Regions from separate parts of the Homo sapiens genome. Here all the other regions are linked to region 6. The links are contacts of gene promoters, found by promoter capture Hi-C in blood cells and fetal thymus (Javierre and others, 2016). All regions are on one chromosome and are shown on one strand. Each heading gives the region's core, a stretch centred on a gene start or on the middle of the fragment in contact. The rest is flanking DNA. Distances are from core to core; before and after follow the strand shown.

Region 1 (4,256 bases), core at 1,040-3,539, 1.1 Mb before region 6:
CCCTGTGCAGGGCATGGGGGCAAATGAGATGTTGGTCCCATTCCTACAGAGACAAACAGGGTGAAGGACTCCCTGTCACCCATAGCAAGAAGGGCCCAAAGGAGGGTTTTAGGAGTGATCGTTGAGTGACTTAATGATCAGCTAAAGTGTCGGATGAGAGCAGAGGATAGAGGAGGGAGGGAGGGGCTTTGGAGAAGTTGTAGATTAGCCAGTACAGGCTGCAGACCTCCATGGGGCAATTAGAGCTTTCTGGGCAGCCACTGAGGGTCCTGGAACACTGCCTGCCCATATTTGCCACAGGCTGCAGCCTTCCAGGTGGCTGGGAATGCGTCCACCCTGAGTGGGTGGGAAGCTGGGGAGCTGACTGGCCATCCTTCCTGCCCCTAGGCTCTGCCCACCGTGATCCGCTCGGCAGGCTGCATCCCCTCCAACATTGTCTGGGACCTTCTGGCCAGCATCTGCCCAGCCAAGGCCAAGGTACCTGCCCACTCTTGGGCACCCCCTCTTTTCCTAGTACCTTACTCCCACCTCCCTCTCCACTTCTAGAGCAGAGGCCTGGCTTGGATATCTGGGTCTAGTTCCCAGAGTGACTGCAGACTCACTGTGTGACCCTGGACAGGTCCCTCTGTTTCCTCCTCTGGAAGATGGAGACATACTTTCTCACGGGGTTCTCAGGGGTTTCAGGGAGCCCAGGGGTGTTGGCAGGAGCAGAGGATGACTGCGCTTACAGCTGCTCTCCTCCTGCCACCGCAGGACGTCTGCGTGGTCAGACTGTGCCCACATGGGGCCCGGGACACCCAGAACTGCCGCCTGCTCTACTCATACCTCAATGATAGGCAGCGCCACGGGCTGGCCTCTGTGGAGCACATGGGGATGGTCCTGCTGCCCCTGCCTGCCTTCCAGCCCCTGCCCACCAGGCTGCGCCCTTTGGGGGGCCCAGGTGAGTGCCTAGTCCCCATACCAGACCCTGCCTCTGCTCACTTGGTGACCAGACCAGGCACGGTTGACACAGTCACCCAGTAGAGGCAGGCACATCTCAGAAGGGAACTCCTCACCCAGCCAGGCAAATGTGAGTACAATGACAGTAATAGCTCACGCTTGGATATCATGAACTGCATGCCAGCCATTGTTCTAAAAGCTTTACCTAGATGAATTCTTGTAGTCTCATCACCCTATGAGAATGGTACTATTAGACTAGACTGTCCATCTCATAGAAGAAGAATCTGAGGGAGGAAGAAGGCAAATGACTTGTCCAAAGTCACACAGTCAGTCAACAGCAGAACTGGGCTTCACTCTGTTCACACGTTGTGTGAAGCACAACATGGCTTCAGAAACCTGGCCCCTAACCACCACACCACACTGCCTCTCAAGGTAGGCACCCCTGAAGAGAAACTCCAGGGACAGCCACATTTGACCCAGGCAGCAGGACAGAGTCAGGACCTACACACACTTGACTGTAAATGTCACCTCAGAGAGGAGGGAGGGATGTTTCGCCACAGCCACGGGGGGCCGAGCTCGGCCTCTGTGCATGGACACCCTCCACGGCGTGGCTCAGGAAAGCAGCGAGGTTGGCAGTGGGCGCTTTGCCCACTCCTGAGCAAAGCGCTTGGCCTTTTGGGGCTCCATGTCCTGAGACAATGAGGTAGACTTTGAGTCTGTAGAGTCTTCAGGTCAAACAATCCATACCCCAGCCTCAGCCAGATAAGCCTTGATCCCGCAGAGCTCAAATCTTCCGAGACAGCCCCACCTTCCTACTTACTTTTCCCAGCATCTCATGGGCCCCATCTCACTGTGAAGAAGCCCTTCCTGGGATGTAGGCTCCAGATCTGCTGCAGCTAAGCTGAACACAGTTCTTCCCCGCAGGCCTTTGGGCTCTTCCTGTCTCCCCTCTCCTTTCCCCAGGTCTGGAGGTCACTCACTCAAGTCTGTTGCTGGCTGTGCTGCTCCCCAAGGAAGGGCTTCCAGACACAGCAGGGTCCAGCCCCTGGTTGGGGAAGGTTCAAAAGATGGTCTCCTTCAACAGTAAGGTGGAGAAGAGATACTATCAGCCAGATGACAGGAGGCCGAATGTGCCCCTGAAGGGCACCCCTCCCCCAGGAGGTGCCTGGCAGCAGAGCCAGGGCAGGGGCAGTATAGCTCCAAGGGGAATCTCTGCTTGGCAGAGGCCCCCCAGAGGCAGGGGGAGGCTCTGGCCAGAGCCTGAAAACTGGCAGCATCCTGGGCGAGGGCAGTGGCCCCCAGAGCCAGGCTTGCGCCAGTCCCAGCATCCCTATTCAGTAGCACCAGCTGGTCATGGCTTTGGCCGTGGCCAGCACTTCCACAGGGACTCCTGTCCCCACCAAGCCCTGCTCCGGCACCTCGAATCCCTGGCGACCATGAGTCACCAGCTCCAAGCCTTACTGTGCCCCCAGACCAAGAGCTCCATCCCCCGCCCTCTGCAGCGTTTGTCTAGCGCCCTTGCAGCTCCAGAGCCCCCTGGCCCAGCCCGTGACTCCTCTTTGGGGCCTACAGATGAAGCTGGCTCTGAGTGTCCCTTCCCTAGAAAGGCCTGACCCTCCTTACCCACCAGAACAGGGGTTTTGATGCCCTCACTAGTGTTGAAGCCTGTTCCAGAGAGAGGTGGGACTGCAAGGAGAGGATGGTCAGCCCTACCCACCTGCCCTGTTTGAACTTCCTGTTTGACAATGTTTGCTGTTGATTTTTTGTTCAATAAAGAATTTGGTAAAATTGGGATTGCATCTGCTAGCTGGTCAGGAGAGCCCCTGGTCCTGGTCAGATGTGGGTTGAGTGGGTGTGTCAGTGAGTGTCTTGTGCACAAATGTGCAGCCTTGCTCATTGCTGGTCTGAGGTCCTGAACCATCACTGCGCCCCAGGGCACAGCTATTGCCACGGTGGTTTCTGGAAGCATTTTGCAAGTATTCTGAACCAGGAGGAAGAGGTGGTGGTGGGAAAGAAAGTAGGACCGAGGTTGGGGGTGGAGAGAGAAATGGACAGAGCCTTTTGGAGGGTCACAGACATCAGACATCAAGAGATTGCTAGAGAGGAAAAGATAAGCAAGTTGCAGTGGACTTTAAATTTTTCAGTTAATACTAAGATTTTTTTTTCCTTTGACTAGATGGGGAAGGATAGTACATACCTTCACCATATTCCCTCCGAGTCTCTGTCTATGTGCTTCTCAGGGATCTCTGTGCACTAGTGTGCCTGCAAGCATGTGAGAGTATCTGTGTGAGTTTCATGGCCTGCCTGTGTGTAGGTCTCTGTTGAGGAAGTCAGGAGATCCAGATTGGGTGACTCCTCTCTGTATCTCTTGCCAGATTCCAGAGACTGGTGTTAGAAAATGTCAAAGGTCTTAGCCTTGGTGGTGGGCATTCAGGGTGGGGTTGGAGACTGGTATTAGGGTTGGACGGTGCTGCCTTGCCTTGGGCCTAGAACAAGCTTCTAACAGCAACTGCAACTGTCAAGCGTTTCATGTGGGGTGTACCTCGAGAGAGCTGCATCTGCGGACTGATGGGGGAACCAGCTGCCAGGGCCAACCAACCCAGCGTGGGGAAAGGGGCCTGGCTTCCAGGAGAGAACCTCTCTAGAACCCCACCCTTCGCCCCGGGGCCAGAAGGGCCCTACCCGCTCTTTGCTCACCCCTTCGCAAAGTCCACCCATGTACAGGCCTCACCCTGGCCCCTGCTGGACTGGAAGGGGTGGGGCGATGGTCGGTTGGGGGAGCCCTTCTTCTCTGCCCCATGAGCTCTGCGGCTGCCCTACCCGCGGACGACAGCAGAGGGGGCCCTCGGCCTTGGGATGGAGGTCGGGGCTGGCAGGACCGGAGTCAAAGCGGGGGGTGGGGCGAGGTGCGGGAACTTAGCGCAAGGAGTTGGAAGCGGGGGCGGGGTAGGATGCGGGTGGGGTGCGGGTGAGGGGTAGGGAGAGGGGGCTGGACAGTTGAACCGGGAGAGGGAGCGGGGCTCCTTCGGGAACTTTTCCGGCTCGAAATGGCCTGGGAGCGCCGCAGCCTCCGCGCTCTATGCAAATGACGCAAATTACTATGCAAACCTACAGCTTGGTTCTGAGCCCACAGTTTGGGTGGTTTTCCTAATGCAGTTGGTATGGAGGGAAACGGGTGTGCACTCCCTCCCCTCCAGGTCCAGGGCTTCCTCCGGAGAGCCGCCAGAGCCGCTCTCCTGGAACACGCAGGCAAGAGCGAGCTCTGTACCCTGGGCAGGGATTTCCTTTGGGAGCTTCAGTTTTCCCTTCTGTAAATG
Region 2 (4,268 bases), core at 1,576-4,075, 1.5 Mb before region 6:
AGTAGAGACGGGATTTCATCATGTTGGCCAGGCTGTTCTCGAACTCCTGACCCTCAGGTGATCCACCCGCCTCGGCCTCCCAAAGTGCTGCAATTACAGGCGTGAGCCACCACACCCGGCCTAGACTCTTAAACATACATACCCTGCTGTAAAATGACTGTCACTGCCTATTCCCCATTGCCTGTGACTGAGTCAGGGAGCCTTCCCTCTGCCTCCCCAGAAGGGCCCAAGAGATCAGCATGGAGACTGCAATTCGCAGGCATGTGTGCCAAATCCAACCCACGGATGGGTTTTGTTTGGCTCTTACCATTTTAGCTGCTAACTATGAAAAAATCTAGAGTTCTCACATAACTCTAGATTTCTGGCTTTTCTTTATTTAAAAAAAAAAAAAAAAAAAAAAAGCCTGACTGCACCCAGCCTGTAGTTTTGCCTGCTCTCAGTTGGCTAGCTGAGAGCAACTAATCAGGAAGCAGTAAAGCCTCCATCTTCAGGTGGCCCCATGGCCAGCCCAGCTTATGCAGATATTTGGGTTTTCAACTCTGGCCTAGTCTAATTTTCTTACTGTAAAGAGAAATATAAACTAAGACCCAGAGAGGAGAAGGGACACACCCAAGGTCACACAGCAGGTAGTACTGGCTGGCACAGGAGCCTACCCTAGCCTCCCGTCTCCATTTTCTCAAAGAGAGAACAGGTCCCATGCCAAGCTCCAGTTGCTCCAAAACCCAGAAGGCTTTGTGCTGGTAACTCCTGCATCTCTCTATGCCGTGGCCCCCACATCCCTGGCTTTGATTAGACTAGAGTGACTTGCTGCTCTGAGAAGTACCGTTTTCCTTTGAATCCTGGCAGAACAGACTGGCCCAGAGAACGTCAAGTCCAAACTCCCTCTCCTCACCAGCTTCACAAAGAGCCGCCCTCTGCTCACCCAAACCCTTGGCTTTTTTCTTCTCCTGTGGCCTTCGATGGTCTCGGTCTCCGACCTCGTCACTCTGCCGGATCTCTTCTGTGTTTGGATCCCCCTTGGAGGGTTCCTTCTCTCCATTGACTACTGGAGTTGGTTCAGGCTCCCCATTCCTTGCCACATAGGTCCGGGACTTCTCTGCATCTTCGGGTTCAGCCGGCTCACCCTGTGCCCCATCCTCGCCGGGGCCCCCCTGGTTATTGTCCACACAGTATGTGCTCAGTATGTCTTCCAGTTGGCGGCTCAGCTCCTCAGAGACATCACGAAGGGCCCCAGACTGAGCCGTTCTGGCTTGAGCCCCTACAGCAGGAGAGGATGAGGGGTAGAGTGAGAAAGAAGACGATTATACCACTGGTTGGGATTTTTCAGGCCCAGCCAAACTCATCAGTTTGAGTTAAATGTTGCCTAACTTTTTTTTTTATGGAAACTGAGAAGCAAGAATGGAGTATCATTCAGCAAATCTAGTTCCTGTCAGAATTTAGATTCGAAACATCTTTTAAATCAAGAAATTATAGTAATCGTTGCCTAACTTCTTTAAGTCTGTTTACTTGTAAAATGACACAACTATTTCTCACTACCACCCGAACATATTTGTTAGATCATAAAAGTATGTAAAGCATCAGCACACAGGGATGGCACGGAGCAACTTCTAGTCCATCTCCTTCCCCCCCACAAAACCATTTCTTGCCATTCAGATCATTCTAGAAATGCCTCAAACAGGAAGGGCAGTTAGCTGCTGGTGGCTGAGGTGTTTCTAACGGGACCTGGATTTCCTGACTGGGTGCCTCGTTTGGCTGCCACCTGACTTAATCCCGTCGGAGCTTCTCTCCAGAACTCTGTTCCTGTGCTTAGAGGGGGCAGCTCCGCCAACTCGCCAGAGCGCAGGGGGGACCGCGGCCCCCAGCACTGTCCTCTCATTCTACATCTCCTCCTCCCGGACAACCTGGCCTCGGCCTGTAAGTCCAGAAGCGAGGCCGACCCCACAGCTCCTCCCCCTGCCCGCTGGCAACGCAGAGCTGGCACACACCCTCCGGCTTCCGAGGAGCCTGGCTGCTGCCGGGACCTTCTGCTTCTACTGCAGGAGCCGCCTGGCTGGGCCGCTCCTGGGCTCCCTCGGGTCCTGCTTCCGGTTGTCCTGGGCTGCTTTTTGGATTGGATTGTTTGGCAGCCCCGTTCTTTTTGTCTTGGTTCTTCATTGTGATGAGCGATGCTGGGTCAGGAGAAGATCCTTTAGAAACAAACACAGTTGCTATTTTCCAGACTTCGAAATTCTTCGCAGCCTGGATCAGAAATCCCCACAGCAGGCGCACAAAGCTTCTTAAAATAAACGGACCGGCAGGCCCGGGCGGAGGGCGCCAACGGCTCTCTGGTCTTGGCGGGTCAGGAGAGCCCGACGTGCCGGGGCAGGCTTTCGGGGCGCAGCTCCCACAGCGGGTGAGGGAAGAGGCCTCTTCTCCCTGGAGCCACTTCCCGGCACAACCGGCCCCCTCGCGGCAGGCCGGGCGCGGGATTGGCTCAGGGCCGGAGACTGACGTGGCGGGACTCCCGGCACCGCCCCCGCCCCTCAGGCCCCACGTGCGCCCCCCGCGCGCGCAGCCACCCACGCCCCGCGCGCCCTCAAGCCGCGAGGCACGCCCGCGCATGCGCATATCCCCAGACAGCCCCCGGCCCACGCGGGGAGTTGGCGTGATTTCCCCACAGGCCGAGAACATCCCGGCCCGCACACTCTCAAATAGTCTCGCCCACCGGCCGCCGCTGCACGTACCTCACCGCCGACGTCCGATGGCTTCCCCACCTCTGGCCTCGCACCGGAAACCCCGAGTAACTGCTGCCGGCCAGCCGCCTGCTCCCGCCTCAGCCAATCAATAGCCGGCGCCGGCGCGGAGCTTGCTGGGAAGGACGAAGCGAGGGCGGCCTCGGAGGCGGGCGCCCCGGCAGGGCGGGGCAGGGAAAAGACTACGCGTCCCTCTTTACGCAGGGGCTAGCCGCAGATCCCAAGGTGCATAAGGGACTGTAGTCCTGGGAGTCCAAAAGGAGCCCGTCATTCTGCACGAGTGCCCATGTCAACCTTGTTTCTATCTCGCAGAAGCTATGCTTCAACTCCCAAAGCCTTGCGCCTGGCTGTTGTTTCCTGCAGGCCTCCATCAAACCTTCCTCCCTGGCCGTGAACAAATGTGACTCCATCCGGGAACTCCGAGGACTCGGGAAGAGGGATAGAGTCCTGGGCTGAGACTCAGGAGACCCATACTCCAGTCCCAACTTCATCACGGATTTGCTGTGTGGCTGGACGTTCTGTTCTCTCTCTGGGCCTCAATGTCCTTCTTCCAAAGGAGGCTTTTAATAACAATAGCAGTTCCTTGAACGCTTACTGTGTGCTTTCCCGCTATCTAATAGCTTGGTTCTCATAACCACTCATAGAAATAACTACTATCTGTTATCCCCATTTTACGGAAAAGGACAGTAAGAGAAAGGTTAGGTAACTTATCCAAGGTCATATCGATAGTGAGTGGTTAAAACAGGGATTCAAAACTGGTAAGTCTGAGACCAGCACCCAGGTAATTACCTGGTCTTTCACCCAGAAGAAACACTACCACAGCAGGTTTCCCTGAGGCAGTCAAGGTAACTTGTGAAAGTAGGTCATATTTTCCCCTCTCCATTACCATTTTGGCAGTCAGTTCCTCAGAAAGGTGCTGAGTTAGGCTTCAGGCATATTCATGAGCCTTTTCTCTACCCCACACTCTACAAAGTCTCACTGGGGTTAAAGTAGAAAAAACCCCCACAGTTCCCTACACATGAGATCACAATTCTGTATCCCCATTGCTTCTGGATAATGAAATCAAACCCAACAATCCTTGTGCCTGGAATTTGAAGCCTAAGAGATTTGACTTTTGCCAAACCCAAAATTTTTTGAGGCCCAGTTCAAAGGTCACTTCAGAGCCTTCCCAGTGCTCTGCAAACCGTACTTGCTCCCTAGGTCTGCAGAGTTGTTACAGCATTAGCAGTGAGGTGTTGAAATTACTATTTACTTATAAGTCAGTTAATTTTGCAAGAACTGTTGGCTAAATAGTCTAGTCCCAGAGCCTCGCATCAGGCTGTGGGTAGAGAAGATTGTAAACTGTTGTGCTAATTGAGCGTTGGTTTAGGGCTGTTAGGATGTTAAATATTTCCCCCAAAGGCTCAGTGAAAGACTTCAGAGCCGTGCATGTTGGATTTCAGATTTTCAGATTGGGGAAGCTCAACCGGTAAAATTTGAGAAAATCCCAAATTGGAAACACTTCTGGTCCCAAGCATGTTGGATAAGAGATATTCA
Region 3 (4,305 bases), core at 628-3,127, 1.4 Mb after region 6:
GGTGCAGGCCCATCAGACTAAAGTCAGTGTAAAGCCACCAGCCTCAGACACCCGATGCTTAGGCCAATGGCCTGGACCCCACTGAGCAATGTCAGCCCCATTGTCTGAGGGATGTTGAACCTGATGCTGTCCTACTTAGAATGAGCTCCTAGAAAGCACCTAGCTCTGCCTCCTCATGGACAAATCAGGAGACTGAGCCCCAGATGTTTGCTCAATGCCACACAGCATGGTGGTAGCTGAGCCAGCATTGGAACCCAGCCTCATGACTTCAAGCCATGTGGTCATCCAAGGACTAAAAATTATGTGCTTAAGAGTATAGGCTTTGGAGCCAGACAGACCTGAGCTCCAGTCCCAGCTCTGCAACTTTCATTCATTCAACAAATACTCGTTGAGTTCTTGTCATGTGCCAGGCACCATGCCCAGTGCAACAGACACAGGAGGACAAGACCTACATGGCCCTGGCCTCTCGCTGCTCAGTCTGGTGAGAAGAAATACCCAGTGAATGAACAAGCTCATCACCCACTGTGAGAAAGCAGCAAGGCACAGACACAGGATGGGCCCTGAAAGACACAGGGACAGTGGGTGCTGGAGGGCCACTCAGGGCATTCAGGGAGGGCATCTCAGGAAGGGGACATCTGATCTGGGAACTGGACACCAGGCAAGAGCCAGGTATGCAGGACCGGAGAAGGGTGTCCATGCAAAGAGCTCAGAATGATGGGGGAAGAAGAGCCTGGAGTGCGCAGGAGCGTGCAGGAGGGACGTGGACAGACAGGGTAGAGCCAGGACAGGTGGGCCTCAGAGGTCATGGTCAGGAGCACAGTGCTCATGCACACAGCAGCAGGAGGCACTGGAGGGTTTGAGCAGGTGAGTGATGGGATCTGGCCTGTTTTTTCAAACGATCACACTGGTTGCTGTTGTTTGTGTGACCTTGTTGGCTCTCTGACCTGGGGCAAGTTGCTTAAGCTCTCTAAGCCTCAGTCTCCTCATCTGTAAAATGGCGATGATCATAGTACCTACCTCACAGGTGGAACTGGAGACTGACATATGACAGTCTACAGAGAGCACTGAGCAATGTGCATTTCAGTGCCGAATAAAGCTTTGCTTTCTTACATCCCCACGTCCAAAGCCCTCATCCTCTACCTGCTGGCCATTCATTGCCTGACTTGAACCTGTTGATCCTGCCTATGCAATGACTCCATTATTTCTGCACTGCCCTTAGCCATGGGGATGTTGAGGCCAAAGCTCATTAAGCTCCTGTCCATCAGAGGTCACCGGGGCAGGGGGAGGTCCATGGAGCCCAGGGAGAGAGATTGGCCAGGCCCTGCTCCCAATGAGGGCCTTGCAAGTGGCCTTGGCATCCATCAATGTCACGGCTCCATCTCCTGGGTGCCTGGGATATATAATGCATCTCAATCAGGGGCTGAGAGAGGTTGTGTGAAGTAATCATTGCTTTCGCTGACTCCTACAGCCAGATTTATTATGGTATAAAGAAACAACTTAGCTTCTGGCAGTAACAGGCAGCTGGCCTAGCTGCACTTGTAGAAATCTTATTTGCTGGGGCCTGGGTGGGTGGAGGTTTCTACCCACACTTGCTCAGCCAGAGGCCCTGGACAGAACCCGGCTGGACCATTCATCTTCCTGTGCTCCTGGCCACCTTGTCTGAGAGGCCGCCACCTTGTCTGAGAGGCCGCCACCTCTGACACATTTCACAGCATTTGAAAAGCAGTGCTTAGGCCACAAATTCCCCATCTGGTATTACACCGAGGGGATCCTTAGGCTTTTGGGCCAGGGAGGCCACAGAGCAGAGCAGTTAAAGGCCCAGGTGTTGGAGTCAGCCTAAACATGGGTTCAAGTCCCTGCTCTGCCATATAGTGGCCAGGTGACCTTGGGTGAGTAAACTCACTTCCCTGAGCCTCCATGTCTTGTCTCTAAAATGGAGGGGTAGGAATCCCCCCTTTAAAGAGCTGCTGTATGGAGTAAGGAAGAGCCAAAGGGTGTAGGACACATAACACAGGAATAGGCACTAGATGAAAGGTGATCGTCACCATTTTCATTATCCAGGGGCTTCAGTATTATGGCGTGAGATGCCCTTTATTGAGGGTCAATTATGTCACCAGGGAGTATGCTGGTTCCTTTTAAATATTTTGTCCCTAGACCTCACAACCAATCCTGCAGGTAGGTCCTGTTATGTTTATTGCAGGGTTGTTAGGGGATTGTGCAAGGTCACCCGACTGTGGGTTGTGGAGCTGGGGGCGGGACTATGGGTTCTGGAGCTGGTGCTCCTCCTAATACAGAGCCCACCTCCCCAGCTTCTCTGAGAGGCCACACAAGGCCCCTGGTCAGTCGGGCAGGCAAGTCCAACCTCTCCTTCCTTCCCTCCCTCGTGCCAACATTTCCAGGGCACTAGCTCCATGACAAGCCCCTTACTGGGCAATGGACACAAGATGGCACAGAAATACTCCCTGCCCTTGAGGAGCCAGCACCGAACAGAGCAAAGGGCCGAGCCGCATCCAGACTGCTCCGCACGCGTGTGTATCAGTTAGCAAAAACTAACTGTGTATGTAACAAGTGATTTCAACAGACTGTCTTCAAAAAAAAAAACCATTTATCATCTCTCCCAGTTCTAGGGGTTGGTTGGGCAGTGTCTTCTAAGCTTAGCCATGTGGCTACACTTACCTGACAGGTCAGCTAGACTGGAAGGTTCAAGACAGCCTCACTCACAGCCTGGGAGTTGCTACTGACTGTTCATGGCACGCGCTGGTTCTCCTCTGTGTGCCCTCAAATCATCCGGTAGGTGAGACAGCTTCCCTTGTATAGCAGAGTTCCAGAAGAGCAAAAGCAAAAACTGCAAGGCCTCATGAGACCTGGGATCCAGAACTCACACGCCATCACTTCTGCCCATGCTATTGGCCAAAGCAAGTCATATTCTATCGCTTGGCCAGTACCCGTGACACACATTTGTGATGCATCGCGTAAGGCTCAGAGGTCAGCTCAGAATGAGGATGAGGGGGTCAGTCTGTGCCCTATCCAAGTGTGATCCTAACTGGCCAATTAATTTTTAACTCAGATTAAAGTATGCTGAATTGTGAGGTCATTAGAATGGGTTGTATCCTCTGACCAATGGAGAAACTGAGGCACAGAGGGTCAGCCAGTGTGCAAACAGAATGAGTACATCATAGAGTCAGCCTTCATATGAAGAAACTGAGTTCCAGAAACAGGAATTGTCTTGTCCAAGGTCAGGCAGCAAGCCTGTGACAGAGTCAGGAGTGACCCAGGTCCCTACCAGCCAGCCTGCTCCTCCTCCCTCTCTACCCCATGGAGGCGGCTGGGGCTGGGAATGGGCTGGGCTGGGGCAATGGGACGGTCATCCCCAGCAGGGCTGTGTCTCCTCTGCCCCCATCTCTGCGATGTTTGTAAAGTAAGCCCTTTCAACACGCTTGGCACTACATAAGGCACTTAATCATTACCTCATCTGATCCAAACAGGACTGTCCCCACTTTACAGATGATAAAGTAGGCCCCAGAGAGGGCACTAACTTGCCCAGGGTCTCGCAGCTGCTGGGCCCATCTGCCTGACACCAAAGCCTGAGCCTCCCATGCTGCCCCAGAAAGAGCTGAACCTGATCCAGGGCCCCCAGTGGAGTGAGAGGCAGCTCTGTGGCCCTCAGGGATCTCGAGTTGATATACCCTACCTGAGGAACTGCTTCAGAGGCCTGGATGGGGACAGCAATGGCCAGGGTCCCTTGGAACCAACTCTGAAAGTGGAAGGACCCTGAGTGATGTCCTGGTCCACACTCCCACCATTTTACGAATGGAAAAACCAGGACCAGATCAGAACCCAGGCTTCTCCAGGGCCCTCCCACTGCACTGGAGGCTGGGGGCAGGTGAGCAGGCCCCGTCAGGCTGGTGAGACACACACAGGGCTGCTCTGTGGCATTCAGAGAGCACGTTTATTTACAAAGCGCTTTACAAACATCAGCTTATGCCTCCCCACAGCCCCCTGCGAGGTAGGTCAGTAGTCATATCTACAGTTTACAGATGGGGAAATTGAGGCACGGAATGGGGGTGTGGCCTGCCCCATTTTAAAGAGACCTTCCCACCCACCCAACCAAAAATAACAAAAGAAACAAAAAAGCACTGGTCCTACCTCTTCCTCTGAACTCCAGAGGGTATGACCAGCCCTGCTCTAACACTGCCCCTCCCCACAACGGGCAGCCTGACCAGGAGCCACAGGGGCCTCAACCCCAGGGGCTGTTGTTCAGCCTTGCAGATTGTCACTGGCCCAAGCTGAGCAGGACAGGCCAGT
Region 4 (4,346 bases), core at 1,566-4,065, 1.5 Mb after region 6:
TTAGGCCACCATGTGTTGACTTTAGTAAGGCTAAACAAGATGCAATAACCCTGAAATGTTCAACTTTTTCTCATGGGAGGAGCTTTGGACTGGGATCTGGTACACCCAAGTTCACATCCTATCTCCACCTCTCATTAGTTCTTTTTTTTCTTTGTTTGTTTGTGTTTGTTTTTTTGAGACACAGTCTCACTGTCACCCAGGCTGGAGTGCAGTGGTGCTATCATTGGCTCACTGCAGTCTCAATCCTCCCACCTCACCTTCCTGAGTAGCTGGGACCACAGGCATGTGCCACCATGCACCTGGTTAATTTGTTTTGTGTTTTTTGTAGAGACAGGGTTTCACCATGTTGCCCCAGTCTGGTCTCAATCTCCTGAGCTGAAGTGATCCACCTGCCTCAGCCTCCCAAAGTTCTGGGATTACAGGCATGAGCCACTGCACCTGGCCATAGTTCTGTGGCTTCAGGCAAGTTACTTAACCCCCTTTGAATGTTGATGTCAGGTTCCTCCACTAAAAAATGGAGATTATGGCTGGGTGCAGTAGCTCATGCCTGTAATCTCAGCATTTTGGGAAGCCAAGGCAGGATCGCTCAGGGGTTCGAGACCTTCATGGGCAACATAGTAGTGAGACCTCATCTCTACAAAAATATAAAAATTAGCCAGGCATGGTGGTGCGCGCCTGTAGTCCCAGCTACTTGGGAGGCTGAGGTGGGTGAATAGCTTCAGCCCGGGAGGTAGAGGAAGCGGTGAGCCAAGATCATGCCACTGCACTCCAGCCTGGGTGACAGAGTGAGGCTCTGTCAAAAAAAGAAACAAAAACAAACAAATGGAGATTATGATGCCTACTTTAAAGAGCAAATGTGAGAGTTACATGAGATAATATGAGTCAAATTGCCCAGCCTACAGTCATTACCAGCCTACAGTCATTACCAGTCTATAGTAATTAATAAACATGTGTGCATTAACATGAGATGCCAGTAGCAGTATAAATTGGCACAACCATTTTTTAAAGCAATATATTTAAAAGCCCTTTCTTCAACCACTCCTGACACTTTATCCTAAAGAAATAACTCAGGGTGGGGGGAGAAGGGAAGAACTACAAGCGCTAGGTTTCTCAATATAGTATTATTTATCATTATAGAAGTCTGGAGGCAAACAGTCCAGCTAAATGGGGACATTCAATGGACTTCTAGAGTCAGTAAACATAATTATAAACAACATAACACACGTAACAACACCAAGCAAATGAAGCAGCATACGAAATGCTTTCTACATCCCAATGCAAGGGTGTAAAAATGTCTACTGCAGGCATATGGGCAGAGATGTGAAGAAGTCAGAAAAATTAAAACAGCTGTTGGGCTAGGATGATGAGCTTCGGAGTGCTTATTTTAAAAAATGCCTTCGCCTGATGCTATATTATTGTTTTTACAGTAAATAATATAGTGCGAGGGGAGTTTCATGGGGATGGAGGAGATGACAACACAGCTGGCCAACAGCAAAACAACTGCCGGCCAACGCGCCTAAGCAGGGAGGGGCCATGATGTCAACAAAGAGAACCGTGTAATTCAGAAGGGCAGGGGGAGGTGTTTGCACCCTGTCTGCCAGGCCCCTGCCCCAGCTTCCGTCCTGGCCAGCCTATGAAAACTGTTTCACAGTGCCCAGCACAAAGTGGGCATTCAGCCCATGATGGTGGCAGCAGCAGCTGCTGCTGCTGCTGTTAAAAACACTGGATTAGGCTGGATGCACTGGCTCCTGTCTGTAATCCCAGCACTTTGGGAGGCTGAAACAGGAGGATCCCTTGAAGCCAGGAGTTTAAGATCAGCCTGAGCAACAGAGTGAAACCCTGTCTCTACAAAAAAAAAAAAAAAAAAAAAAAAAAAAATATATATATATATATATATATATATATGTATATAAATTAGCTGGGCATGGTGGTGCAAGCCTGTAGCCCCAGCTGCTTAGGAGGCTGAAGCAAGAGGATCACTTGAGCCCAGGAGTTCAAGGCTGCACGCAGTGAGCTATGATCGTGCCACTGCACTCCAGCCCAGGTGACAGAGTGAGACCCTGTCTCTAAAAACAAAATAAAACAAAAAACTAAAACAAAACACTGGATGAGAAATCAAGAGATTCAAATTTTGATTCAAGCTCTGCCATGGACTCACTGTGTAGATTTGTACAAGTGGCTAAATCTCTAAATCTGAGTTTATTCATCTGTAAAATGGGAATAATCAACAGCCGTCATCATGAAACCTGGGTTCTTGACCCACTGTCTGATCACAGCCAAGTCTCTTCCCCTCTCTGGGTTTCAGCTTCCCCATCTGTACACTAAGGGGAGTGCAATAGAGATCCTCTGCGGAACCCTGTGCTATGATTCCTTTTATCCTAAGTGGCAAACCAGAACTGCCTTTGAAAGATTAAAAACACCATCATTTACTGGGTGCTTACTGTGTGTTAAGCGCTATACTTCACATGCATTTAATGCATTTCCCTGCAATTGTCTGCATTTAACCCAAAACACTGGAGGCTCCAAGGTTCAGGCTTTCCAACTCCTCTTTCTTCCATCTACATTTATTCCCTAAAAATCTAAGGACTGAATCGGGGATTCTCAACCTCAGCACTATGAACATTTTAGACTAGATAATTCTTTCTTATGTGGCTGTCTGTGCATTGTAGGATGTTTAGCAGCTTCCCTGGCCTCTATCCCTTTAGATGCCAGTAACACCCCATTGCCGCCACCCAGTTGTGACAACGGTTATGTCCTCAGTCACTGTCAAATGTCTCCTAGGAGACAAAATTGCCCCTAGTTGAGAACCATTAGCGTAAAAGATCTCATCCAACCTCAGGGCTTTAAATGCCATCTATACCATCTCCACACTGATGACTTTCAAATTTCTATCTGCAGCCCGAACCCCTTCCCTGAACTCCACACTCATGTATCCATCTGCTGATGAATATCTCCACTTGAATGTCTAATAGGGATCTCGAAGTCAACATTTCCAACACAGAACTCCTGATCTATGACACCCACGTCAAATCAGCTGCCACCACAGTCCGCTCCAGGAAATGACAGCTCCATCATTCCTGCTGCTCTAGCAAAACACCTTGGAGCCATCCTTGACTTCTATTTCCCTTTCTCTCATCCCATATTCAATCCATCAGCAAATGCAGTTAGCTCTGCCTTTAAAATAAACCCAGAATCTGACCACTTCTCCCCACCACCACCACTTCCACTCGGCTCCCAGCCATCACCACCTCTTAAGCAGATCATTGCAGTAGCCTCCTCCCTGGTCTCTGCGGCACCTTTGCCCTCCTGGAGAACATTCTCCACAAAAGGGCCAGAGTGATCCTTTTAAACAAAAGTAGATGATGCTCACTCCTGCTCTCTAAACTCTTCAGTGGCTCCCCAGCTCTCTCTGTGTACAACGGCTCTAAGTCCCACATCTGCAGCTCAACTTCAGCCTCTTCTCCTGCCATCTCCCACTCAGTCACTAACACAGTGACACTGGTCTCCTGGATGCCCCTTGCACGTGCCAAGCATTCTCCAGCCTCCAGGCCTTTGTGCTGGCTGCTCAGTCGGGCTGGTGCTTGCTTCCCCCAGCAAGCCCCCAGCTCTCTGCACGGCTCAGTCCCTCACCTCCTTCAGATCTCTGCTCAAATGTCACCTTCCCTTGAGACTTTTAAAAATAACAACCCTCCAGGCCCCACTCCCTGCTTTTCTTCTTCACGGCACTTATCACCATCTGACAGGCCATAAAGTCCTCCCTCGGTATATGCCAGGGATTGGTTCTAGGACCCCTACATATAACCGAATTCACACATATTCAAGTCCCATAGTTGGCCCTTCATATATACAGGCCCTAGAAACACTGGAGTTTTTTGTATTGCTGGTTTGTTTGTCTCTAGATAAGATCTTGATCTGTCATCCAGGCTGGAGTGCAGTGTGAAATCTTAGCTCACTGCAGCCTTGATCTCCTGGGCTCCAGCAATCCTCCTGCCTCAGCCTCCTGAATAGCTGTGACTACAGGCACATGCCACCACATTCAGCTAATTATTGTTGCTGTTGTGTTGTAGAGACAGGGTTTTGCTATGTTGTCCAGGCTGGTCTCAAACTCCTTGCCTCAAGCATTCCTCCCATCTCAGCCTCCCAAAGCACTGGGATAAAAGGTATAACCCACCATGCCCAGCCCGCAAATACCGTATTTTTGATGCACGTGTGAGTGAAAAAAAAATCTATGTAAGTGGATCTGCCCAATTCAAACCTGTGATGTTCAAAGGCCAACTGTATACTTCACTTGTTTACTCATCTATTATCTATCTCCTCTTGCCAAAATGTGAGTTCCAGGAAGAACT
Region 5 (4,390 bases), core at 276-2,775, 1.0 Mb after region 6:
AACACTCATGACTCCTGCACCAAGACCCAGAGGGCTCCAGGGCAGTCATTCTGGCTTGGTATTTGAGGACCCCTTCCCATGGTGCTCTGCATACTCCCAGGACCCTTCACTACCCCTGGACCCTGAAAACCTGGGCACCTCCTCTCCCCTTCATTTCCTATCAAGACCTCGTTTTATATCCCAGGCCTTCCTCCCCATCTGCCATATGCGACGCTTCCTTCGGCACATCCTCTGCATCCCACAGCTGCCTGCCACACTCTGGCGGAGAGGCAAGGCTGTGGGCTCACACGGGGGTTGAGGGCCCCCGTGATCACCCTCAGCCAGTGACAGCACACTGCAAGTGGACACCCAGGAGCAGCCTCAGCCACCAGGCCCTAGGAGGAGGGTGACACCTTTCAAGGAATCATGACTCTTTAGTGGCCACTGCCTTCCCATTCACCCACCCCTCCTTCTTAGCACAGATTACAGCCTCCACCTTGATGACTGTGATCTGATGAGGCTCTTCCTCTCTCCCCAAAATGTTGGAAAGGATGATGATCTGTGGGTCAGAGTCCTTGGTTCTACTGTTTACAGGCTATGAGACCCCAGGCAATCAAGTCCCCTCTCCAAGCCTCGGTTTCCTCATCTGTAAAATGGTGACACAAGTAATGAATCCTAGTGTGTATAACATTGGAATAGAATTATCAAGCAAAGTCCCAGACTCTTAGAAAGGGCTCAATAAGTGTTCACAATAAAGGTTTCTTCTCTCCTTCTTTCATTTCAGTGAACTAGGAAGAGCGTAAGTTTTGACATCAGGAAGTGCTGGGCATGAATCTTTGATCCACGACTTAGCGGCTATATGAACTTGGACAAGTTGCTTAACTTCTCTGAACTTGTTTCCTCTTTTGTTAAAACAAACAAAAACGGGTTCTCCTCTCATTGAGTTGTTTCATTGAATATTAAATGAGTTACAGCAAGCCAAGAGCCAGCAAGCCAGCACAGTGCCCAGTACATAGTAGGTGCTCAACACATGCCACCTAATCCCTCCCACCAGGTCCCCCTCCCTGCATCCTCTGCACAGACAAGCTGGGTCAATACCACATAAAACACCACATTGACCCCACTTGGCCTTTCTCTTCTGTTCCTGCCCCGCTGGCCACGCTGAATAGATTTCACGGCAGAAATGACTGTTTTTGCAGAAACTGATTGTGATGAAGCCTGAACACAATGATTCAGAGACCACAGGAAGTCGCTGCCAACACAGGCACTTACAGGAACAATGTCTATGGGGGAGCCTCCTGGAATCTTGGGGCAGGGAAGAACCTTCTCTGTCTTTAGGTCCCATGCCATGAAGTCCTGAGTGGGCTTCTGAAGCAGTGACCCTCTCAAGGGTCATCTCATGCTTAGCTCCCTGCAAGAACAGGGGAGGTAAAGAATATGGCTGGGGTCTCAGACAGACCCAGACTCCAGACCCAGCCCCTCCACCTACTTCCTGAGAGGACTTGGGTAAATCTTTTACCTTCTGGGGCACAACGTCCTTGCATTTCATAGCACTATGAATGACAGCCACGTCTGGGTTGTGGTGAGAACCAGATGGCTCAGCTCATAGAACATGCTCAGGGCCTGGCACCCATAGGTGTTAATAAACGGTAACAATTACTATTGAGATTTAAGTCCAGCATTCCTCCATTACTAGCTGTGTGGCCATGGGTCATCCCTCATATGTTCTGAGACTCTGCTTTACAATCTCAAAAAAGGGATGAACAGGCCGGGCGCGGTGGCTCACACCTGTAATCCCAGCACTTTGGGAGGCCGAGGCGGGTGGATCATGAGGTCAGGAGATCGAGACCATCCTGGCTAACAAGGTGAAACCCCGTCTCTACTAAAAATACAAAAAATTAGCCGGGCGCGGTGGCGGGCGCCTGTAGTCCCAGCTACTCGGGAGGCTGAGGCAGGAGAATGGCGTGAACCCGGGAAGCGGAGCTTGCAGTGAGCCGAGATTGCGCCACTGCACTCCAGCCTGGCGGACAGAGCGAGACTCCGTCTCAAAAAAAAAAAAAAAAAAAAAAAAAGGGATGAACATTCTTACCCCACAAGGCAATGGGACCTAAACCGCCTTGTACAGGGCTTGGCACATAGTAAGTGCTCACCATATGAGCAGTCCCTCTTCCTCCTTTCTCCCCTCTTCCTCCTGAGGCAGCCTATTATACCTGCTGGACATCTTTGAATTACAGAGAGTTCTAGAATTTATCCTTATTGGTCCTTAGCCTATGAAGTAGAAAAGAAACCAGCCAACTAGAATTGAGTCACAGATACCTAGGTGAGATGGTGTTTCCAGAGGGAAGAAGTGATCTCTGGGGTCAAATGCCGCTGAGAAGCCAAAGGCCACAAGGACAGAGACATGTCCACAAGGAGGAGGCATAGGAAGGGTATTTGTAACCTTGACAAGACAGAAATCAGACTGTAGTAGGCAAGAAATGATGGCAGTGGGGAGGAAGAAGATGGAGCCAGCTTCTGCAGGTAACTGGTTCAAGTGGAAGGGGGCACAGAAATCCACTTAGTTGGCTTCATAGAGTCAATGTAGTATGGGCAAGAAGAGAGAGGCTGGAGTTCCAAGTGCTAGCAGAAGGCAAGGCCTCTGCAGGGGCAGAAAAGTGTGTTCCAGGGTGTCTGGGGAGGGTGGTGGAGAAGGTAGGCCTGACTCGATGCGCTGACTGCACCTGTAGAGGCTTCCCCACCCCCAGACTTTCCCTCCCCATTCCATCGTGTTCCTTCTTTTCTTCCAAAAACCAGCTCAAAAGTTTCCTCCTTGAGCATGTTCTTCCTGAGCCACCTCCCTTCAGCCTTGCCTGGCAGCCCGGTGAGGACAGGAGCATGAGGTTTGGAAATAGTTCTAGACTAAATCTCCTTTCTCCCTTCACTAGTAATGAGCCCTTACTCAAGTCCCTTGACAAGTTCCAGTTTTCTTGTCTGTAGAATGGGGCAGCCCCCAGGCTCCTTTTCAAGATCAAATGAAAAATCAAGTGGAAAAAGAGCTCTGCAAACAGCAAACTAGTGCCTGAGCACTGGCTAATGGCTCCACCTGTCTCCCTTTGCGGTGTCCCTTCTGCAAGCTGGAGTGTGATTTGTGTTTTCCTTCCTATGTTTCATGATCGCCTTCCATGCAGAAACTGGCACCTAAGAACTGCTCAGACAGCAGGAGGGCCATGGAATGAGCTCACCACGTGAAAGCAGCTAGCTTACCCTACCGGATGGGGCACACATCTTAGGCTGTGCTGAGATTCAAAGAGTCACTATAGCCACACAGTTGGGGCATGCTGGGGCAAGCAAAGACTTGAACCTAAGCTTTTGGTACCCATGCTCTTTGTGATATTGGGAAATCCAGGCACAGCTTTTGAAAGGTGAAATTTCAGCATCCGGGCAGCCAGGGGAGGCAGCTGTTTCGTGGCTCTGCCTCGGCCCCCTCCAACAGGCCCATCCCAGTTGCTGAAAGATCCAGCATAGTTTTAGTTAAGATTCTGAGCCCAGGAGGGAAGCAGGAAATGATTCATTTTCTCCCTCAGCCAACGTACACAAAGGTACATTATTAATATTTACTCGGGGGCTTCTCCAAGGACCACAACAGCAAATCATAGGAGAGGAGGAAATGGAAGATGAGCTTCACTAGGTCTGCCAGCTGCCTACATGTGGGGTGAAGGGGCCCTGCCGACCATGCTACCTGGCACAGCCCCCACCAGTGCTGGGCCTAGACGGGGCCTTGAGGTTCATTCTCTCCAACCCAGAGAGGGAAGGGGACTCACCCACAGTGACTCAGCAAGGTCACCACAGAGGAGGGAACAGAATCTGGGAATGTGGAGGGATGGACCAAGCTGTGAGCCTCAGGGCCCTCGTCTGCAAAATGAGGAAATAAACACTGCCCAGGCAGTTTTGAAGGAAGATGTAAAAGAACGACCCACAGCATCTGGCCAAGAACAGGGGCTCCACAAATAACATCAACGTGAGTGCTAATGAGGACATCGGTGACAGGGCCTGCCCCCATTTCCCAGCCTGCTTTGCAATAGCCCCGGGCACCCCTTCCTGGGAAAGCATCCCTCTCCCCAGGCTGGGCTGGGCTAATGAAAACCAGGCTGAGAGAGTATCAGTTACTCTGCACAGGAAATGGTCCCTCTTCGTCTTTCTAAGATCTCCTTTCACAGGGGCCAGGCAGTAGCCGTCTGCACCCTGCTGTTCTCCAGAAGACCAAGCCCTACTCAGGCTCAGCAGCCACCCTTGCCCCTTTCTGTGGCCCACTCTGTGTCATCGTCTGAGGAATGGGGCCCAGATGTGGTTTTTTTCCACCTGGCAGACACCTGCTGACAGCTTCTGTCGCTTGGCGGCTGTAATTGCAGTGCTCTCTCCCCTTTATGCCCTG
Region 6 (4,516 bases), core at 767-3,266:
GTTTCCCAGGACTTGTATCCTCACTGTCATGTTCAGGGCTCAGCACAGAACCTGAGGCTAAGCCAGGTGTCCTCTGTTCCTGTGGCACCCCCACAGGCTCCAGCACTTCCCCACTGCAGCCTTCGTTAGCCCGAGTCGCCACTTCCCTGCTCAGGGCCCCAGCTCAGGGGAGGTTCTTTCTTATCCCTCCTCCATACCCCACTCTCTAGCACACAGTGGATAAATGAACATGATTCTGCTCGGAGGTGGTATCCCCATTTTACAGATGGTGAAACTGAGGCATAAGAAGCTTAAGCAACTTGCTCAGCCAATAAGTGGGAAAAGCATTCACAGAGACAACAGCATATAATCCCAGCCATTACCACCCCTTAGAGAAATGACGTATCAGGCAGCCTGTCGGTCTTGGGGCCAACTACAAGTTTCAGCACGGGGTGCTGTAGATGAAGCTGATGGTTGAGGTGGTGGAGAGGGTGAAGGAGATGGGGGTGGTGGCGTGGGGTGGGCAAGTGAGGAGAGAGCTCCTCCAGCAGGTGACACAGCGGCGCTGGGGGAGCTGGCACCAGACTCCAGGTGTTCAGCCTGGAGTTCACCTGTGGGAGGACCCAGCAAGGTGGACAATCTGAAAGCTGGGTTGCAGGGAGGGGAGTAGGGACTCGAGGAGGCAGTGGGCCTCGGGATGGCAGCGAATAGTCACAGCTAGATTTTCAGAGCCAGGAGCCCAGGCCCCTGGAGAGGAAGAGATTGTACAAAGTCACTCCCCAGGTAGCCCAGGGTAATGATGGTAAAAATAATAGTTGCCCCTTCTGGCTTCTAACCAGGAGTCATCTCACTCAACCTCACCACAACCCTTTTTACAGTTGAAGACACTGAGGCTCAGGAAGGTGACCTGTAGCTTGTGGAGCTGCATTTCTAAACACGGCCTGTCTCAACTGCCTGTCATCAGGACAGGGTGTCAGGACCTGGGGCTAAGGATGGGACCCAGGAATCAGAAACAGACCCAAGTCAGAAGCAGAGAAGCAGCAAAGCGGGACTGGATGCCTAACCCAGACTGGGCAGAGCTGGGAGCGCCCTAGCCTCAGGGCGGGTGCAGACAGGGGGTCACGAAGCCGGATCTCAGTGACAGAGTCCGCCACCTCTTTCTTTCCAGGGTACAGACCAGAGGAGCCTAGTGGGAGGGGAGCAGGCAGATTCTTTCCCTCTCTGGCAGGGGCATGTATCATACCGGGGAGTGGAGGAGGATAAGGGCGGCATCTTTCTTGGGTTGGTCCCTTGGGCATCCACATGGGAGTGGCCCTCCGTCGGTTCCCTGGTCCAGGGTCCCCGGTCTTACCGGGACAAGGACAGCAAGACGGGAGACGGCAGCCCCATCCCTTAGCTTCGGCTGCCATCTGGTGGCCAAAGCGCAGAACTGCACCATGTGGAACCACCGGATCCCCCCACCCAGCCCCGGCCGGGCCTCCCGGGGGCACGAGGGGCGTGGCACGACTCCCACAGCCATCAGCCTGAGGACCCTGCCCTCAGCCGCCTCAGTCTGAGGGGAAGGCATGGCCCTGACCTTAGAGACCCCAATTTGGCGATGGGGCATCACATCCCTCCGGGCATCTCAGAGCTGCCTGCCCGAGGGAGGCGAAGCAGATGGAAAGCCCCCCAGCCACGTCTCTCAGTCAGAGGAAACGGGTCTCCTCTTCGGCCAGCCGGGTCCTCTTCCCCCGGGTGCCGCCTGGCTGTGCGACCCGGCAGTCCTCCCGCCTCTCCGGGCCTCAGCCTCCTCTCCTGGACAGTCCCGTGGGCTTCCGGGAGCCCGGTGTCACACCGCCCCGCGTGTCGCAGGTGGTCATCGTGGTGACAGACGGGAGGCCCCAGGACAGCGTGCAGGACGTGTCTGCGCGGGCCCGGGCCAGCGGCGTCGAGCTGTTCGCCATCGGAGTGGGCAGCGTGGACAAGGCCACGCTGCGGCAGATCGCCAGCGAGCCGCAGGACGAACACGTCGATTACGTGGAGAGCTACAGCGTCATCGAGAAGCTGTCCAGGAAGTTCCAGGAGGCCTTCTGCGGTGCGCGGGCAGGCGGGGGCGGAGCCAGGGCAGGGGCGGAGAAGGGGAGAGCGGCGGGGCGGGGCCAGGGCTGGAGGCGGGACCGAGGCTGAGGCGCAGACGGAGCCAGCGCCGGCGCAGGGCAGGGGCGGGGCCGGGGGGGGGGCAGAGGCGGAGACGGGAGAGAGATAGAATGTCAGTGCCGGGGCGGGGCCGGGGAGGAGCCGGGGGCGGAGGCGGAGACGGAGAGAGTCAGCGCCGGGGCGGGGCAAGGGTGGGGCCAGGGCAGGGGCGGAGACGGAGAGAGCGGCGGGGCGGGGCCAGAGCAGGCAGGGGGCGGGGCCAGGGCAGGGGCGAAGACGGAGACAGTCAGTGCCAGGGCGGGACCGGGGCGGAGGCGGAGAGAGTCGGCTCCAGGGGCAGGGCCAGGGCTGAGCGGGACGAGGCCGTGGCAGGCGCAGAGACTGAGAGTCCGCGCTGAGGCGGGCCAAGGCTAGGGGCGGAGCCAGCGCTAAAGTGAAGACAGAAAAAGTCAGCGTCGGGGGGCGGGGCCACATCAGAGGGCGGGGCCTGGCTGGGGCGGTAGCCTATAAAACGGCGGGAACTGAGTTACACGGCAACATCAGGGCGGGGCCAGGGCTAGGGACACGGCTTAGGTGGATTGGGGGTGGAACCTGGATTAGACTGAGGTGGTGCCAGCACCAGGGGTGGGGCCGTAGCTGGGGCGGAGCCTGATAACGGAGGAGGGTCTCCAGCCCCAGGTTAAGGGAGTTGGGGAGAGGCGATGTTAAGAGTCCTTTTATGGCCGGGCGCGGTGGCTCACGCCTGTAATCCCAGCACTTTGAGAGGCCGAGGCGGGCGGATCACGAAGTCAGGAGATCGAGACCATCCTGGCCAACATGGTGAAACCGGTCTCTACTAAAAATACAAAAAATTAGCCGGGCGTTGTTGCGGGCGCCTGTAGTCCCAGCTACTCGGGAGGCTGCGCCAGGAAAACGGCGTGAACCCGGGAAGCGGAGCTTGCAGTGAGCCGAGATCGTGCCACTGCACTCCAGCCTGGGCGACAGAGCGAGACGACTCCGTCTCAAAAAAAAAACAAAACAAAAAAAAAAACCGCACACACAAAAAACAACAGAGCCCTTTTATGTGGCAGAATCCTGGCAGGGACCAAGGAGGGCCCAGAGCTCAGGAAGGAGAGCTCCCAGAAAACCTACACATGTTTCTGTGTCGTGAGTTTTGGGTGCCAGAGTTTTCTGTGATGCGGGAGAGTCTGAGAGGCCTGGGCACTGGCAGGAGAAGGTTCAGAGCCCTTCTCGGAGGGGAGGTGTGTGTGTGGGTCTTTGGGATGTGACCCGCAGGGGCAGGGTGTCCAGTAGGACAGGATCAGGGTTAGGGCAGGGACTTTACCCATTTGTAAAATGGGTCTAAGAAGAGCATGCACGTTATTGAGAGGATCCAGTGAGATAATGCAAAATGTAACCCTCATTATATGGTATTTGACAGATAGGTGCTGTGTTCATTGTATGCTGTTCTAGACACTTGGGTGTCTTGATACAGCAGTGAACTAAACAGACTAAAGGCCCTAACCCTTGGCCTTTACCTTTTTAGTGAGACTTTTCATTCTTATCATCAGCATTATAACCTTCTTCAGGGATCTAGGCACTGGTGCAATGATTCCAGACGTGGGCTGAGAGTCGGGGGCCTGGGCCCCAGTATGTTGGAGATCTTAGTTTCCCTGAGTCTGGATGGGGCCTGGTATCCACAGTCAGGGAGGGACAACCTGTCTGTAGTGCCCAAGGCACTATGACTGTGAGATCTGAGCTACTTATTGTCCCCGCAGTGGTGTCAGACCTGTGCGCCACAGGGGACCATGACTGTGAGCAGGTGTGCATCAGCTCCCCCGGTTCCTACACCTGCGCCTGCCACGAGGGCTTCACTCTGAACAGCGACGGCAAGACCTGCAATGGTCAGTGGGGTGGACACAGGCTCGCCCTGGAGAGGGTGTGGAGGGGAGGTGATGGGGCCTCCCCAGGAAACCCATTCAAGCCTCCCTGCACCATACCTCTGAACCAATCTTCAAAGCAGACAGATGCCTTTTAGAGTTTGGTATCTGCAGAAGTTCTCACCTGACTTCTGTCCCTGTTTTCAACACAATGGGCGGTGGGTTTAGTGTGGTAGAAGGACTCACATAGTCTCAAAATCAAATCCTGGTGCTACCACTTCTGAGCTGTGTGATCTCACAGCTATTGGAGTTTCAGTTTCCAATACTGTACAGTGGGACCAGTCACCTTGGCTTTATAGAGGCAGTTCTGAGGGCACAATGTAATGATCCTCAGCACAGAGCTTGGTGTGTGGTGGGTGTCCAGCCGGGGAGCAGGATGGTTGACTATGTCCTTCAGCTTCAGCCCGTTGCCTTCCTGTCCTCCACAGTCTGCAGTGGTGGTGGTGGCAGCTCGGCCACTGACCTGGTCTTCCTCATTGACG

What was found. Contacts are between HindIII fragments. The CHiCAGO score rates a contact against its expected background, and 5 or more counts as called.
Region 1: a contact is called between a fragment that was not itself captured here and the fragment with the promoter of MATN1-AS1 in region 6, in 1 of 17 cell types (neutrophils). The highest score is 9.0, in neutrophils.
Region 2: a contact is called between the fragment with the promoter of TXLNA here and the fragment with the promoter of MATN1-AS1 in region 6, in 5 of 17 cell types (monocytes, neutrophils, activated CD4 T cells and 2 more). The highest score is 8.2, in monocytes.
Region 3: a fragment that was not itself captured here is called in contact with the fragment with the promoter of MATN1-AS1 in region 6 in 5 of 17 cell types (M2 macrophages, erythroblasts, M0 macrophages and 2 more); the score reaches 8.0 in M2 macrophages.
Region 4: a contact is called between a fragment that was not itself captured here and the fragment with the promoter of MATN1-AS1 in region 6, in 10 of 17 cell types (megakaryocytes, endothelial precursors, erythroblasts and 7 more). The highest score is 13.1, in megakaryocytes.
Region 5: a contact is called between a fragment that was not itself captured here and the fragment with the promoter of MATN1-AS1 in region 6, in 2 of 17 cell types (endothelial precursors and M1 macrophages). The highest score is 11.5, in endothelial precursors.

Annotation. Positions count from the first base shown.
Region 1 is chr1:31,788,899-31,793,154 of GRCh38, reverse strand. SPOCD1 (SPOC domain containing 1) reads left to right here. Exons shown (of 16, transcript NM_144569.7): 14 at 388-477; 15 at 754-940; 16 at 1,864-2,733. The coding sequence ends at 2,552. Among named protein-coding and RNA genes, the nearest start is that of SPOCD1, 25 kb to the left of the region's middle. RefSeq lists a silencer at 3,763-4,052 and an enhancer at 4,218-4,256. The HindIII fragment of the contact is 2,297 bases long and covers 1,141-3,437 here.
Region 2 is chr1:32,178,232-32,182,499 of GRCh38, reverse strand. It overlaps TXLNA (taxilin alpha), which reads right to left and starts at 2,825. Exons shown (of 11, transcript NM_175852.4): 1 at 2,724-2,825; 2 at 1,986-2,186; 3 at 923-1,258. The coding sequence starts at 2,154. RefSeq lists enhancers at 1,822-1,871, 1,882-2,041, 2,162-2,241, 2,129-2,887, 2,888-3,647 and silencers at 2,442-2,621, 2,762-2,951. The HindIII fragment of the contact is 3,390 bases long and covers 2,275-4,268 here.
Region 3 is chr1:29,326,426-29,330,730 of GRCh38, reverse strand. It overlaps LINC01756 (long intergenic non-protein coding RNA 1756), which reads left to right. Exons shown (of 3, transcript NR_110758.1): 3 at 1-1,111. PTPRU (protein tyrosine phosphatase receptor type U) reads right to left here. Exons shown (of 30, transcript NM_133178.4): 30 at 3,931-4,305. Among named protein-coding and RNA genes, the nearest start is that of LINC01756, 22 kb to the left of the region's middle. The HindIII fragment of the contact is 1,557 bases long and covers 1,099-2,655 here.
Region 4 is chr1:29,266,779-29,271,124 of GRCh38, reverse strand. The region is part of intron 7 of PTPRU (protein tyrosine phosphatase receptor type U); the gene reads right to left. Among named protein-coding and RNA genes, the nearest start is that of PTPRU, 32 kb to the right of the region's middle. The HindIII fragment of the contact is 6,519 bases long and covers 1-4,346 here.
Region 5 is chr1:29,708,910-29,713,299 of GRCh38, reverse strand. No RefSeq gene overlaps it. Among named protein-coding and RNA genes, the nearest start is that of LINC01648, 330 kb to the left of the region's middle. RefSeq lists enhancers at 3,239-3,338, 3,224-3,817, 2,908-4,107, 3,818-4,390. The HindIII fragment of the contact is 3,602 bases long and covers 1-3,326 here.
Region 6 is chr1:30,716,272-30,720,787 of GRCh38, reverse strand. It overlaps MATN1-AS1 (MATN1 antisense RNA 1), which reads right to left and starts at 2,016. Exons shown (of 4, transcript NR_034182.1): 1 at 1,223-2,016. MATN1 (matrilin 1) reads left to right here. Exons shown (of 8, transcript NM_002379.3): 3 at 1,831-2,053; 4 at 3,873-3,998; 5 at 4,463-4,516. RefSeq lists silencers at 1,404-1,493, 2,054-2,573, 2,614-2,793 and enhancers at 1,151-1,726, 1,824-1,993. The HindIII fragment of the contact is 4,958 bases long and covers 292-4,516 here.